Regions from separate parts of the Homo sapiens genome. Here all the other regions are linked to region 5. Evidence: promoter capture Hi-C in 16 types of primary human blood cells and fetal thymus (Javierre and others, 2016). All regions are on one chromosome and are shown on one strand. The core of a region is centred on a gene start or on the middle of the fragment in contact, and the rest is flanking DNA. Distances in the headings are between cores, read along the strand shown.

Evidence for each region. The method cuts DNA at HindIII sites, captures the fragments that hold promoters and counts their contacts. A CHiCAGO score of 5 or more calls a contact.
Region 1: a contact is called between a fragment that was not itself captured here and the fragment with the promoter of RPSA in region 5, in 1 of 17 cell types (total CD4 T cells). The highest score is 5.3, in total CD4 T cells.
Region 2: a contact is called between a fragment that was not itself captured here and the fragment with the promoter of RPSA in region 5, in 1 of 17 cell types (activated CD4 T cells). The highest score is 5.0, in activated CD4 T cells.
Region 3: a contact is called between a fragment that was not itself captured here and the fragment with the promoter of RPSA in region 5, in 3 of 17 cell types (fetal thymus, non-activated CD4 T cells and neutrophils). The highest score is 7.0, in fetal thymus.
Region 4: a fragment that was not itself captured here is called in contact with the fragment with the promoter of RPSA in region 5 in 1 of 17 cell types (total B cells); the score reaches 5.6 in total B cells.

Annotation. Positions count from the first base shown.
Region 1 is chr3:39,081,928-39,084,627 of GRCh38, reverse strand. It overlaps WDR48 (WD repeat domain 48), which reads right to left. Exons shown (of 19, transcript NM_020839.4): 12 at 366-473. Among named protein-coding and RNA genes, the nearest start is that of GORASP1, 24 kb to the left of the region's middle. The HindIII fragment of the contact is 249 bases long and covers 1,325-1,573 here.
Region 2 is chr3:39,120,135-39,122,834 of GRCh38, reverse strand. TTC21A (tetratricopeptide repeat domain 21A) reads right to left here. Exons shown (of 29, transcript NM_001366900.1): 9 at 1,646-1,838. Among named protein-coding and RNA genes, the nearest start is that of TTC21A, 14 kb to the right of the region's middle. The HindIII fragment of the contact is 4,421 bases long and covers 1-2,700 here.
Region 3 is chr3:39,140,554-39,143,253 of GRCh38, reverse strand. It overlaps CSRNP1 (cysteine and serine rich nuclear protein 1), which reads left to right. Exons shown (of 5, transcript NM_033027.4): 5 at 1-1,399. The coding sequence ends at 199. Among named protein-coding and RNA genes, the nearest start is that of MIR6822, 3.7 kb to the right of the region's middle. The HindIII fragment of the contact is 8,062 bases long and covers 1-2,700 here.
Region 4 is chr3:39,064,442-39,067,141 of GRCh38, reverse strand. WDR48 (WD repeat domain 48) reads right to left here. Exons shown (of 19, transcript NM_020839.4): 3 at 1,253-1,331; 4 at 512-594; 5 at 267-396. Among named protein-coding and RNA genes, the nearest start is that of WDR48, 14 kb to the right of the region's middle. The HindIII fragment of the contact is 352 bases long and covers 1,196-1,547 here.
Region 5 is chr3:39,405,284-39,407,983 of GRCh38, reverse strand. RPSA (ribosomal protein SA) reads right to left here and starts at 1,264. Exons shown (of 7, transcript NM_002295.6): 1 at 1,220-1,264; 2 at 198-363. The coding sequence starts at 330. RefSeq lists a silencer at 881-1,060 and enhancers at 1,231-1,370, 752-1,543. The HindIII fragment of the contact is 4,276 bases long and covers 1-2,700 here.

The DNA of each region.
Region 1 (2,700 bases), core at 200-2,699, 320 kb after region 5:
TTAGTGGCATCCCATTTGAATATATTCTCCAAACAAGTCTCTAAACCTTCATTTATTTGTACTATTTGACTAAAGTGCTAAGTCATAAATTCAGGAACCAAAATGTGTTTTGTGTGATTCAATGCAACAACACAATTTAGTTTCCTGGGATACCAAAGGCATTTTGTAACTTTTAAATTTTTTTCTTTTTTAATATATTTTTAATTTTGTTTTTTTCTTTTTTATTCCATTTTGCATTTTAAGTTTTAACACAAATTTTTTTTTTCACACCTAAAAACACAGGACTCTGTAACTAATAATAATTATAAGCTATAATGAAAATCTTCAATTATCCCAAATCATACAAGTATCAATTGCTAACTTACCCCTGTTTTTAAGTCTACTGAGAACCAATTTGGCACATACACCATTTTAAATCTTTTCTTAATTTCATCTTCAAAATCCACTTTGCCCAGATCTTCAACTTTACATGCCTATACATCAAAAGAAAGTATAATGATCAATATTAAGTGGTGAATTCACTTGATTCTGACTTTGCTATTCAAAATTTTACATATTTTCACATGTGTCTAAGTGAAACAGTCTAAAATACATTTCAAAAAGAATGTGGTCCTTTTTTAAAATAACAATCTGCTGCTATAAAAAATTTAAATTAAAAAAGCACAAAATAGTATTTGGGAAGAAACTGTATTTAATTGTGCTGATATTGATATAATATACCACCTCATCTTAACAGCAACGTGGCTCTTTCGAGGGTCCCAGTTGTCGGCCATCTTCTCAAAGGGGGACTGCTTATTTTCCCACATCCCATTGTTCCTTGATGCTCCATGGAGACCATTACTCTACCATCTCCCATGTAAAAACTTATTTCTCTGAGGCCTATGTCATTTAGCAACAGTAAACGGTACACCTTTCCTTCACTGCCATCTAGCAACCTGCCACTCTCCCTCATTTACTGGAGACTTGAGCCCTGGGGTCACTGTCTTGCAGTCCATCTCAACTAAATCTCTCTTCTACCTCTGACCTTGCCACCTTCCCCATTATCCTCAGCACATGACTCTGATTCCTTTTTCTCAAAACAAAGAGAAGCCTTGACAGAATCCCCTTAACTTTCTCTATCATTCTCCCTGGTGCAAGGAAAACGGTGTCCCTTCTGACTGTGCTCCGGTCCCCCTCACCTCTTGCTTCTTGGGATGACCTTGTATTGTCATCTACCCATGAATGTCTCTACTGGCTTCTTCCCAGGAGCAATGAAATATGCTCAAATTTCTTACATCTGAAAAATACCCAAATATCCAAACAAAACCAAACAAAATCAAAAGCTTCCTTTGGCCCTCTGACTCCTACATCTTCTCTAGTTTCCGCCGCTTCCTGCCTACCCCTCCAATCAAATTTCTTCAAAGATTATCCAGTCAAATTTTCTGTTTCTTCACCTTCAAATCACTACTCAACTCACTCTACCTGGCTTTTGCCCTTAAGACTCTACCCAGAGGCCACCCTCTTTATTTAAATCCATGATGTTAGTCACATCTTAAATCAACTCACAGCAGGTTAATGCCACTAACCGCAAGCTTCTTCTTGAAACACTCAATTAGTTCTGGAGCTGCCACTGGCTCTTCATTTTCTTACTCCCCCGCAACTTTTTAAAATCATATACTATTGTGGCTTCCTCTTTTCCCAACATCCCTGAAAGACTGATGACTTAGTTTCTTCTCAGTCTACATATGTCCCTTGGAAACTCTGACATTTCCTATGACATCAAACTGTAACCCACAAGCTGATGACTGCTGAGCCTTTTTCTCCAGCCCAGTTCTTTAACTGTGCATGAGACTGTACAGCTGTCTGCCCACCAAACACCTCTATTCAGATATCCCACAGAAACTCAAATTCAACATCTTTCTCAGCATGTCCTTTTCTCCTGATAACCTGTTTTTCATCTTACATTCCCTACATCACTTCCATTCACCAAACTGGACAATCAAGAAATCTGGGACTCATTCTTGCTTTTTCCTTTCCTCATACTCCTTTCATTAAAGTATCACTCCTGTGGGCAGGCACGGTTGCTCATGCCTGTAATCTCAGCACTGTGGGAGGCCAAGACGGGCAGATCATGAGGCCAGGAGATCGAGACCATCCTGGCCAACAAGGAGAAACGCTGTCTCTACTAAAAATACAAAAATTAGCCCGATGTGGTGGTGCATGCCTGTAATCCCAGCTACTCGGGAGGCTGAGGCAGGAGAATCGCTTGAACCAGGGAGTCAGAGGTTGCAGTGAGCTGAGGTTGCGCCACTGCACTCCAGCCGGGGCAACAGAATGAGACTCCGTATCAAAAAAAAAAGAAAAAAAAAAGTATCACTCTTGTTCACAGGCCTAAATATTTTCCTAATCATTCGATTTTTTCCATCCCCCTTGTTCCCACCCTAGTCTAGACAAATATCACCTTTCACCTGTATTAGTGCAACAGCCTCCTATTATGTACCAGACACTGTGCTTCTCAACATCACCAATAATAGGCACCCCCGACATTTTAGGAATGAAGAAACCATTTTAGAGATGTTCCCTAGCATATTCCGTAGATCACTTGGCGAGTATTTGGCACAGCCAAGGTTAGAATGCAGCTCTGTCCAACTCCCAAGCCAATGTTCCTAAAAAACTCCTGACTGTCCCACACTGTTTAGCCACGTCTATTACACCAGATCA
Region 2 (2,700 bases), core at 64-2,563, 290 kb after region 5:
GCTAACCACTGGGACTCTGCCCCTTGAAGGAGGAAGTAGGGAAGGACTCAACCTGGTGGAAGAACATTCTAGGGAATTTTGCTTTTGTGCTGAGCAGCCAAGTCCTTTTGTCCTTCATGTCCCTGGTTATGGTGGGAAATCATCCAGAGCAGTGCTCCTCTCCCTCCTGCCCCAACACCCAATACACACCTCCTGGATTCTAGCCTCTGGCCAAGGCATGATTCCAGTAATCCTCCTATTATCGCTCTCACTGCCCCGTGGCATGCTTTCACACTCAGCCTCTGGTGACCCTGAGCTCGTCTTTTTTAGTTTTTGTTTTTCCTGGAACTCTTTGGGGAAAGCTGGTCTACTAAATTCTTTAGCTAACCCATCTCTGCCTATGTTTGCTTATGGGTTTCTAGATCTGCTTCGAATTCCCATGTATTTGACACCATTTGCCTTCCATCTTCTAGAAATGTGAAATTCTTCAAAGTTTCTGGTCCACGCTGCTATGTACTCTTTTTTTTTTTTTTCTTTCTTTTTTTGAGGTGGAGTCTCACTCTGTGGCCCAGGCTGCAGTGCAGTGGTGTCATCTCGGCTCATATCAACCTCCATCTCCCGGGTTCAAGTGATTCTCCGGCCTCAGCGTCCCAAATAGCTGGGATTACAGGTGTCCTCCACCACACCTGGCTAATTTTTGTGTGTTTTTAGTAGAGATGGGGTTTCATCATGTTGGCCAGGCTGGTCTCGAATTCCTGACCTCAAATGACCTGCCCACCTCAGCCTCCCAAAGTATTGGGATTACAGGCGTGAGCCATCACGCCTGGCTCATTACCTTTTAAAGATATCTTTCATTATTTTCATGGGATTTGGGGACAGAGGGAAAGCATGGATTTGAGGGGGTCAGCCTGACATGTTGAACCAGAAGTCAAGATAAACTACTCTGATAAATGTGCTATGCAGATGAGGAGCCTGGAGTTTAGAAAGGAGAAGTGACTTGGCCCCAAACACATAGCCCCTCAGAGCCAGGGCAAGAGTCGGCCTGCCTTGAGCACTGGACCACACAACTTCCTCAACCCAAACCAAATACTGCCACTTCAGAGTTCACCACAGACCATGGAATAGGGGGCTTTAAAAAATGCGTAAAATGGAAATGGCACTGTAGAAAGTTCATTTGGCATTTATAGAAAAGATTTTTAAAGTCACCTGGACAGACAGGGAAATATATAATTCTCAGAGCTACTCTTTTTGGTGGTTTTTCAGCTCAGAGCCCTGAAGGAGGGTCTACAGAGGTGAATCTAGAGGCTCTGCATGTGGGGACTGGTGGTGAGTAGAACTGCCTCCAACCCCGGCCTGGGCAGCCTGAGAAGAGGCAGGGCCCACTGAGTATAAGGTTCAGCCTGTCAGTCTTCTGGGGCAGTCAGTGTAGACAGACATTGGAGGTCTGGTGGAGATCAGAGTGACTCTGATCATACCTCTGAGCATTGCTGTGCCTCTTACATCTATACTTGTGGATTCCCAGAAAGATACCCCATCATACATTGTACCCCAAAATTCACATACCCTTCAAGGAGAATGCTTTCCAGCACCTCTCTTCTGGACCCATGGAAGCTGCCCGGTTTGGCTCCCGACACCCATCCCTGAGCCCTGCCACACCTGCATATACCTGTCAAACCAGCCATGCCATCCTTGTCCAGTTTCATGGCTTCTGAATACCACAGCAAGGCCTCTTTCACTTGGTTCTTCAGGATGAAGAGATAGCCCAGTTCTGTGGCCACATGGACATACGAGGGGGTGGCCATGAAGGTGCGCTCGATGAAACTACACACTAGCCCTAGAATCACCTGGTGACTCCCACACTGCAAGAAACAGGAAGGTGGGAATTGGGAAACCAGTCAGTCCAGCCTGTATGAGCAAGGTCATGTCAGAAACGGGGGACACTTTGGTAGGCAGGGCTGGTAGGCCCAGGAGAGCCAAGAGGTACCGTGTGTCTAGGCAGCTGGGTCTGTGTTGCTGTCTGGCTCCCAAGGAACCTCTCACTGGCCACAACTGTGGAACCTGCCTCTAGCCACAGGGTCCTCTGAGGGACCTATCCCCTGTCTGGTCACAGTAATTGGTCTAAGGAGTCACCAAGAGGTTTTTCAAAAATTGAAGCTGAATGTGTCCAGTAATAAGAAGTGGCCCCAAAGGCTGCCATCAGCCATGTTCCCTGCCATGTGTGGAGAACAAGGCAGAGAGAATCAGACATACAGAGGGAGAGATGGTGCCTATGCAACTCCACAGTTCTGGTTCCTGGGGTCCCAGAGTTGCCTTCATTCTTACAGCAACTACTTCTAGTAAATCTTGCTTTGGGGCTGAAGGGTCTGAAAGAGATACAGATTTGTTGGCAACCTGGTCTAGTTGAACCTTCCCTGATGTTTGAGAGGCCTAGGCAGGCCAGCCTTCTCAGGTCACCTCCACAAAAAAGAATATGGGAGATGGGCACCCAGGCACTAGAGGCTAGAGCTGGGTGTGGCTCTGCTGCATAACAGCTGCAATACCACCCGCTTTCCCCAAATAAGGCACAGCCCACTCCAAAAGCACTTTCAGACCCCGTCTCCCTGATCTTCATGGCATCTCTGAGGGGGCACCTAGGCTAAGGATGTAGAACCCACATGTCACAGTTATCAGCCAGAGGCAAGTAGGCACAGCAGGATATGAGCCACTACCCTAAAGGACAAG
Region 3 (2,700 bases), core at 7-2,506, 260 kb after region 5:
GGTGTCTGACAGCCTGGACAACATCGAGGCACCTCACTTCCCCCTGCCTGGCCTGTCTCCACCTGGGGATGCCAGCAGTTGCTTCCTGGAGTCCCTCATGGGCTTCTCCGAGCCAGCCGCCGAAGCCCTAGATCCCTTTATTGACAGCCAGTTTGAGGACACTGTCCCAGCATCTCTAATGGAGCCTGTGCCGGTGTGAGGACCAGGATGTCTTTTCCCAGCCCCAAGAGACCTGTTGCTGCTTTCTTGTAATTATGGGGCTCCCCAGAGTCTGCGTAACAGTCTCCCACTGGCTGGCTCACCCACAGGTGCCATGTGCACACTCCTGGTTTTCAAACAATTCTCTGGATTTATTTATTTGTTTTAACTTTTCTGTGCTGAAGAGAGGACTGGGGGGAGGGGGCTTCCCCTTTCAGCTGCCCGGCCCCCCACACCCACAGCTTGCTCTTCTATCTCCACAACGTGAGCCTGGAAGAGGAGAAAATGTGGCTCCTCTGGAGCTTGGCAGACCACTTTTCGGTCTTTGCGTGATGTTCCTTAGCCCAAAGACGGTGAGACAGGGCTGAAATCAGGTGGCTTCTGCCACCCTGAGCCCTAGACCCATGGGTGGCTAAATCCACTGGACTGTGAAGACTATAATTTATTTCCATAATTTATTTGGAGATTGAGGAGGCTTTGGTTGCACTTCTTTGGCTGGTGGGTAATGCCAGGGGTGGGGTGGGCACAGGCCCTCAAGAGCCCCTTTTGCCTTGTAGTCCTACACCTTGCCCTGCCTGGGCTTTGGTGCAGACTAGGTGTGGATTTGAGCTCTGTGATCTATGTCTGCTGCCTGGCTCCTAGATGGCTCTGTGGGCAGGTGCTGGCCAAGGACATCATCTAGGCAGGGGGAGAGCCTGGGCTGAACAGCTGTGACCAAAACTCCCTTCTGCCCCACCCTGCCCCCTCCACTTCCTGCCCTCTGTTCCATCTTCCCCCTTCCCAAAGGCCACAGCCTTTATTCCAGGCCCAGGGATGTAGGAGGGGGAAGGAGGAAACAGGAAGCCCAGAGAGGGCAAAGGGCCTACCTCGGGGCGCGAACCATGCCCCAGACTATTATCTCAGGGCTTTCTGGGCACTGCACTTCAGCGTGGCCCACCTGCCCATGCCCTGAGGCCAGTTGGCGAGGGGTGGCTCCTGAGGGTTTTTATACCCTTTGTTTGCTAATGTTTAATTTTGCATCATAATTTCTACATTGTCCCTGAGTGTCAGAACTATAATTTATTCCATTTCTCTCTGTGTCTGTGCCAAGAAACGCAGGCTCTGGGCCTGCCCCTTGCCCAGGAGGCCTTGCCAGCCTGTGTGCTTGTGGGAACACCTTGTACCTGAGCTTACAGGTACCAATAAAGAGGCTTTATTTTTAGCAATGTGGTATGTATTTGTGGGGTGGGAAGCAGGGGCAAAGGGGATGGGGGACAAGCCCTGCAGAGGGGAGTATGGACACAGGCTGTGTTGAGGGGTAGGAGTAGGCACACCCAGCATATTGGGCCTCTTTCCAGGCAAGCCAGTCAAGTTGGAGGCAGGAAGCCAGCTGAGAGGCTGGCCAGGCAGATAGAGCAGTTTTTCCTTTGGAGTAACCTGTTCCTCTACAGTGGTGACCTGGGGTGGTGGGGAGGAGCAGCACCAGGGTCTTCTGACATGGGGCTATCTGCTGGGGATGGGTAAGGGCACCCTTCTTCCTACACACCCACACTGAGCTGAGGCCTTGTCCTGAGGGTGAATTCACCAACCTGGGTGGAGGCAGGGTAAGGGCATGTGCCTGGTCAAGGCCTGGTGATGGCCTTACGTAGCAGCTGTGGTCCCTGGGGACTTGAGCAGGGGGGCAGCGGAAAGGGCAGGGGGAAGCTGCAGAACCTCATCCCTCTGCACCAGCCAGACCTGTCTGACCTGTCCCTGGCAGCTCAGCTGGGCAGCAGGCCAGAGGAGTAGGCCACACCCTGCTCTGGGGAGCCCCAGTCTGGGGGCCTGAGAAAGGTTGACTTCCCCCTTAGGAATGATAGTGATTTGTACAAGAGCTGGAAGGAGGAACCGCCAGAGGAGAACTGATTTGGGTCTCCTTGCTCTAATTCTCTGCCTTGGTCTGTACTGGGCTCACTCATCTCTTTGGCTTAACTGGTAAGAGCACAGAGCCAGAATGCTGGGCTTGAATCTCAGATTTTCTGCTACCTAGTGAGGTGATTTGTGCAAATTACTCCCTCTGTGCCTGGGTGTCCTCAATACTACATGCAAACAGTAACACTACTCACCTCATAAACTTGTTTATTTCATATTTACAAAGCCCTTAAAGAGTGCCTGGAACATGCAAGTCCTGTGTATGTTTGCAACTTGCATTGATTTTCATGTTTCTGCCATTCTTTCTCTGAATGTTTAATCCTTTTTTTGCCTGTCCTGTCACCCTTCAGGTATCTGTCTCTTGCCTCTGGACATGCATGGTCATGACCACATGGCCATATCAGTGCCATTAGAGGACTCATAGTTTGGAGTCTGGCCTATGGTGCGGCAGTATGTCCCTGTAACCAGCTTAACTAGGAATAGGCTTCTCAGGTTAGAGTACCCTGGTACATTGAGTTGTCCTGTCTCTTCTTCACTGGTGCCTAGACACCCTTCTGTAGCGATTACTTCAGCAAGCACAATCCAAAACCTGGGTTCTTCAAGGGTTCCCAG
Region 4 (2,700 bases), core at 122-2,621, 340 kb after region 5:
TTACATTTTAGCTAGGGAGCTAAGACATGCACACGTACAAAAAATAACCAGGTTATACCTGGAGAAGTTACCATTTTTAGACTGCAGTGAGGAACTAGCTCTTTGTTGTTCAATCATACTCTTGGGGGCCAGAACGCTGTAGGTAGAAGCACTCTCAAAATATGAAACACTCTCTCGATGCAAACCTATCAAAAATGTTTTATAAACCATTCTTTATTTATGTTAACTTGGATCACTTTCAAAGAAGTTTCTTTTAAACACCTTACTTGTGACAGTGTTATTTGAGGCAGTCAATGCTGTTAGAGTATTCACATCCCAAAGGAATATTTGTCTGTCCAACCCAGCTGATGCTACTAGTTCTTTATCCTTGGCATATGCTAAGGCCTTTACGTAATCCTGTAATAGAACAGACATACTATGATCTATTCTGTAGATCAGTAATAAAATGAGCCACACAAAGTACTGAGATCCCAATATTACACTAAAGACACTGAGAACTGTATTGTTTTACCTTATGTGTCCTTAATGTTGACATGCAAAATCCCTTGTGTGCATTCCATACTTTTACTGTCGTGTCAGAAGAAGCAGATATTACTAGAAGAAGCAAAGAATTAACAAACTCCTTAGTAGTATGACTTAAAACTTTGAAAACTTATCTTACAACAATGTAACATTATTTCAAACTAACATATTCTCTCTCTTACACACACAAACATACCTAAAAGCTCTTTCTAGAACCTATTGTATATTGCCTCAATTTTTTAAAATCTCAAGACACATGTTCAAAGAAAAAAATATATTTTTAAAACAAGCAGTGCAAACATTTTTAATGTTCCAGTTGAAGGCTCAACTAATGTGATTGAGAAAAATTCCTGTAACTCGGACTGCAAAACCAAGGAATGGATCTCACCAAAATTAGAACAAAAAGAGGTATTAATAAGGCTAAAAGAAGAATACATATAGTACGAGTCTATATACAGTTCAAATGAAGGCAAAACTACCCTTTGGTGTTCAGAAGACAGAAGAGCAGTTACCTTGGGGCAAGAGGGAATAACTGAAAGGGTGGCAAAGGGTGGCACAAGAGGGCTTCTAGTAATATTGTTTCTTGATTTGGGTATTCACTTTCTAAAATTGTGTTGAACTGCAATCTCGAAGTGTGTGTACTTTTCTGTATGTATGTTTCAATAAAAAAGCTTATATAAAAAACAAAAAATATATCAGAAGCCCAATAATAATCCAAAGAAATACTTACATGTTTTCCCATTACAACAGAGTACAATGTCGTTTACCCAATCAGTATGGTGTTCCATAGATGCTATATATGGATCTTGCTGAAATTAAAAGAAAAATCCTAAGAGTTTATATGAGAGAATGAAATATATTACAAATGATAGATATGGTTAAATTCTTCAATTAATGTGACATACTGCTCTAGGCATTAAAACTAACACCTGAATTCTGAGTAGAATCTCACCAAATAGGTGATGCTTCCAGATAACAGATGTAAACAGTTTTGTTTCAGGACAGTTTTACTCTTACTGAAAGCTTAGGTTTCCAGGACAAATACTTCATTTTTTTTTTTTTTGCCTTGTTAAAGTGAAGGCAACAAGCTCTGGACTAGGCACTGTGTGTGACATAAAACCCTTTAAAAAGGGTTCACTAGAAAGGACATGACTTGTAGGAATCTGTAGGCTGTGGGGATTTGAATGAGTGGTGGTGAAGGCTCAACAGCAGACAGCAGGGGCAGCAATGAGTCTGATGAGTGCACTAAGGAGCCTGGTCTGAATGCAGAGGGAGATAAACACTTCTGCTTTCAGCTTCCTACTGTTGGGTTCACCCTCTGAATTAAATGTTTTCCTCATGGTACCTACAGGCCTTCAGAGATGAAAGGAAACCCAACGGCTGAGAAAGGACAACCTGTGTCACCATTTCAATTAGGTGATTCGAGATTCTACTTCTCTTACCTGGCTTAATAACCAGGAGAGGCCTTTTAAAGAACAGTATTTAGTTACATCCTACACCTAAAACAGGCAAGTTTGAGACACTTTATGGGCAAACAGAACAGCTCTGTACAAGTCTGTTTGACAAATAATGCTATTCAATCTTGTCATAAAAGGAAGACCAGAAAAAAGATGTTTGGGGCAAGACAGGCAGATTTCCAGATTCTTCAGGTTAGTTCTTTTGGGTGTTTTTCTTAATTTGTTTGAAATACTGTGAATGCTCAGAAAGGAGACATTCCAATTCAATTATAAGTACCAAAAAGCATTTCAAAGCCAAACATAGTTTTCTTACTTTTCATGCTTTTGACATTTGGCCACCACTGCATGGTCCATTGGCTAAAGAATTCAAAGCCTGCCAGACTGAAGTTATAGGCGCATAAAGTAGTGGTTCTTTTTCTGAACTGAATATCAGACTTGTAAAACTTGCTAAAAAGACACAAACTTTTAAAAATACAAGGTCTAGCACTAGGGTTTTCAAGTTGGGCTGGGTACTAATTCTCTGTCACTTCCTAGCCACATAACCATGGGTTTCTCTGAGCCCATTTTCTCATCTATGAAAATGGATCTGGCCAGGCGCGGTGGCTCACGCCTGTAATACCAGCACTTTGGGAGGCCAAGGCAGTTGGATTATCTGAGTCTAGAAGTTTGAGACCAGCCTGACCCACATGGTGAAACCCCGTCTCTACTAAAATTATAAAAA
Region 5 (2,700 bases), core at 15-2,514:
ACTGACATATTCCTCCCCTGGAGCAGAAATCTTTTCTCTCAATAACAAGAACATTTATTTAAAGTATGTTTTCAACGTAGGGGTCTGGCTTCATTTAAGGAAGATAGAAAGAAATTACCCAGAACTAACCACGAGAATAGCAAGCTCAAAATTTGTACTTACAGCTGGAGTAACAAAAAATTAAAGCAATGACTAACCATCACTTTTCCTTTTATAGATGTACTGTTCCATCTGGAAGTCAAGATTGGTGCCACCTAAGTGGGTTCCTGCTGCAAGGAACTTAAGGACATCCTCCTCCTTCATTTGCAGGACATCAAGGGCTCCGGACATTGTGAAAATTTCCCTTTAAGTTACGACGGGAATCTGAAATAAGAGAGCAACCTATTTCTTTTCATTCCATTGAGTTAAGTAGGGCACACCCTTAAAAGCAACCAAAAACTCCATCTGCTATAGTGTCAGGCATTGAGCTTACAGTGTAGTGAAGGGTAAACAGAAAGTTAACCCATACATGTCGTGTATTACGGAACAGCGCACATCTTACTGAGGAAATAGTGTGGACGGCAGAGTAACCGAGTAATAAAACTACACGAAATTAGCGAATGGAAATTCAACACTTCTCAAGATAGGAATTAAGGAAAAGTTGTGGATGCGCCAAGTTAACAACTAGATACAAAAGAGCAGCCATGTTTGGAATATGCAAACTAAAGGCAAAAAAGGCATGAATTGTTTTCAGACATTTTCAAGCAGATTGTAGGCGGATGCTTTGGAATTACTTCGCTGTGCTGTCACCACTTGTTTGTCTAAAAACCCGAGAACCTTAACTCCTGACCCGCACGGCGCGAAGGGAAAACCCGACCAGCCCAAGTAGCTGGTGTAAATCAGCGCCTGGGCCTAGACTCACCGCCGTGTGGGACTCCGAAGGGATAGCAACACAGGATGTTAGCCCGCTTTCTGCACTCCCGCCCACCCGCGGCCTGGTCCGAACCCCAGCTCGGAGCCTCCGCTGGAGGGCGGCCTCCACCCGCTCCCGGGGCACTCTGGGAACCCGCCAGCCCGAGCCTGGCCACGTGCGGGCCGCAGGCCTAAGGTGGGGCGCGCCGGGCGGGAGACAGATCCAGTCTGACCGGCTTTCATCACTAGTCTTCTCACCCTTCATTTGAGCAGGAAAAGCTCATTTTTCTAGCCCTGGAAGGCGCCAGGGACGCTACACGGAACTCACCCAGAACAACGCCGTATGGACCCCTCTGCAGGTAGCACGGAAAAGACAGGCGGCAGGAAATGACGTCCTTATGTACTCCGTTGTCAGCCAATGGCAAAGAAAGTCGAGCGGAAGAAGGGCGGAGCCGGAGAAGAACGCTGCCGGGACTGGGCTTTTTCTTCAGGAAGGCGGGCTTGCGCCGCAGGAGCGGGCCTCTGGGCTGTAGCCGGTAGCGGCATCCTGGTCGGATCTGGGGCGCTTGTGACTTTGGGGTTTCTAGTGCCACAGCGACGCCCTGTGCATAATTCCTGTCCAGAGCGCGGAACTCAAGTTAGTCAGCCAGGCGGGGCGTTCTTACCCAGCCCTTGTACCTGCGAATATGAGCGGCTTTCTAGCCTAAGCTGCCATTTTGTTACCTGAAAAGTAGGAAGGTTTGTTCGACACAACAAATTGTTAGGTAAACAAAAACTTGAAGATTTATTTTATTTTATTTTCCTGGAGAACAGTTTAACAGGACGTAATTCAGATTTAAATGTTCACTTAAGGGAAGTTTTCTCTGAAAAAGTTAAAAAAGATAAGATTGAACTGATCGTATGCGTTATGTCTATCTCATGTATCTATCCATCTATCACCTGGGGGAAGTTTCCCTGAAAAAGTTAAAAAGGACAAGATTGAACAGATGGTATGGATTATATCTATCTTTTTTTTTTTTTTTTTTTTGGTAGAAGAAAAATTTTGCAATATCCATCAGTAGGAGATAAGTTTGCCGGGCGCGGTGGCTTGTGCCTGTAATCCCAGCACTTTGGGAGGCCGAGGTGGGTGGATTGCCTGAGCTCAGAAGTTCAAGACTAGCCTGGGAAACATGGGGAGACCCCCATCTCCACAAAAAATACAAAAATTAACCAATCATGATGGTGCGTCCCTGTAGTCTCAGCTACTCAGGAGGCTGAGGCAGGAGGATAGCTTGAGCCTAGAGGTCAAGTCTGCAGTGAATGTGATTGCACCGCTGCACTCCAGCCTGGGCAATAGAGCGAAATTCTGTCTCCAAAAAACAAACAAAAAAATAGGAGTTAATTGAAGGGGCGCGGTGGCTGTAATCCCAGCACTTTCGGAGGCTGACGCGGGCGGATCCCTTGAGGCCAGGAGTTCAAGAGACCAGCCTGGCCAACATGGCGAAACCCGGTATCTACTAAAAATTCAAAAATTAGCCAGGCATGCCTGTAATCCCAGCTACTGGGGAGGCTGAGGCGGGAGAATTGCTTGAACCCAGGAGGCAGAGGTTGTAGTGAGTGGAGATTGCGCCACTTGCACTCCAGCCTGGGCGACAGAGTAAGACTCCGTCAAAAAAAAAAAAAGTGCAGGTTCCTCTCTGGGGCCTGCTGAGTCAATCTGATTTCTGAGCCCACCCTAAAATGAACTCGTAGACCCTTATGGCCACTCTTCCAAAGGACAGCACATCCAGGTTCTCCTGCAAGTGGCTCTGCAGCTCCACTGAAGCCAGT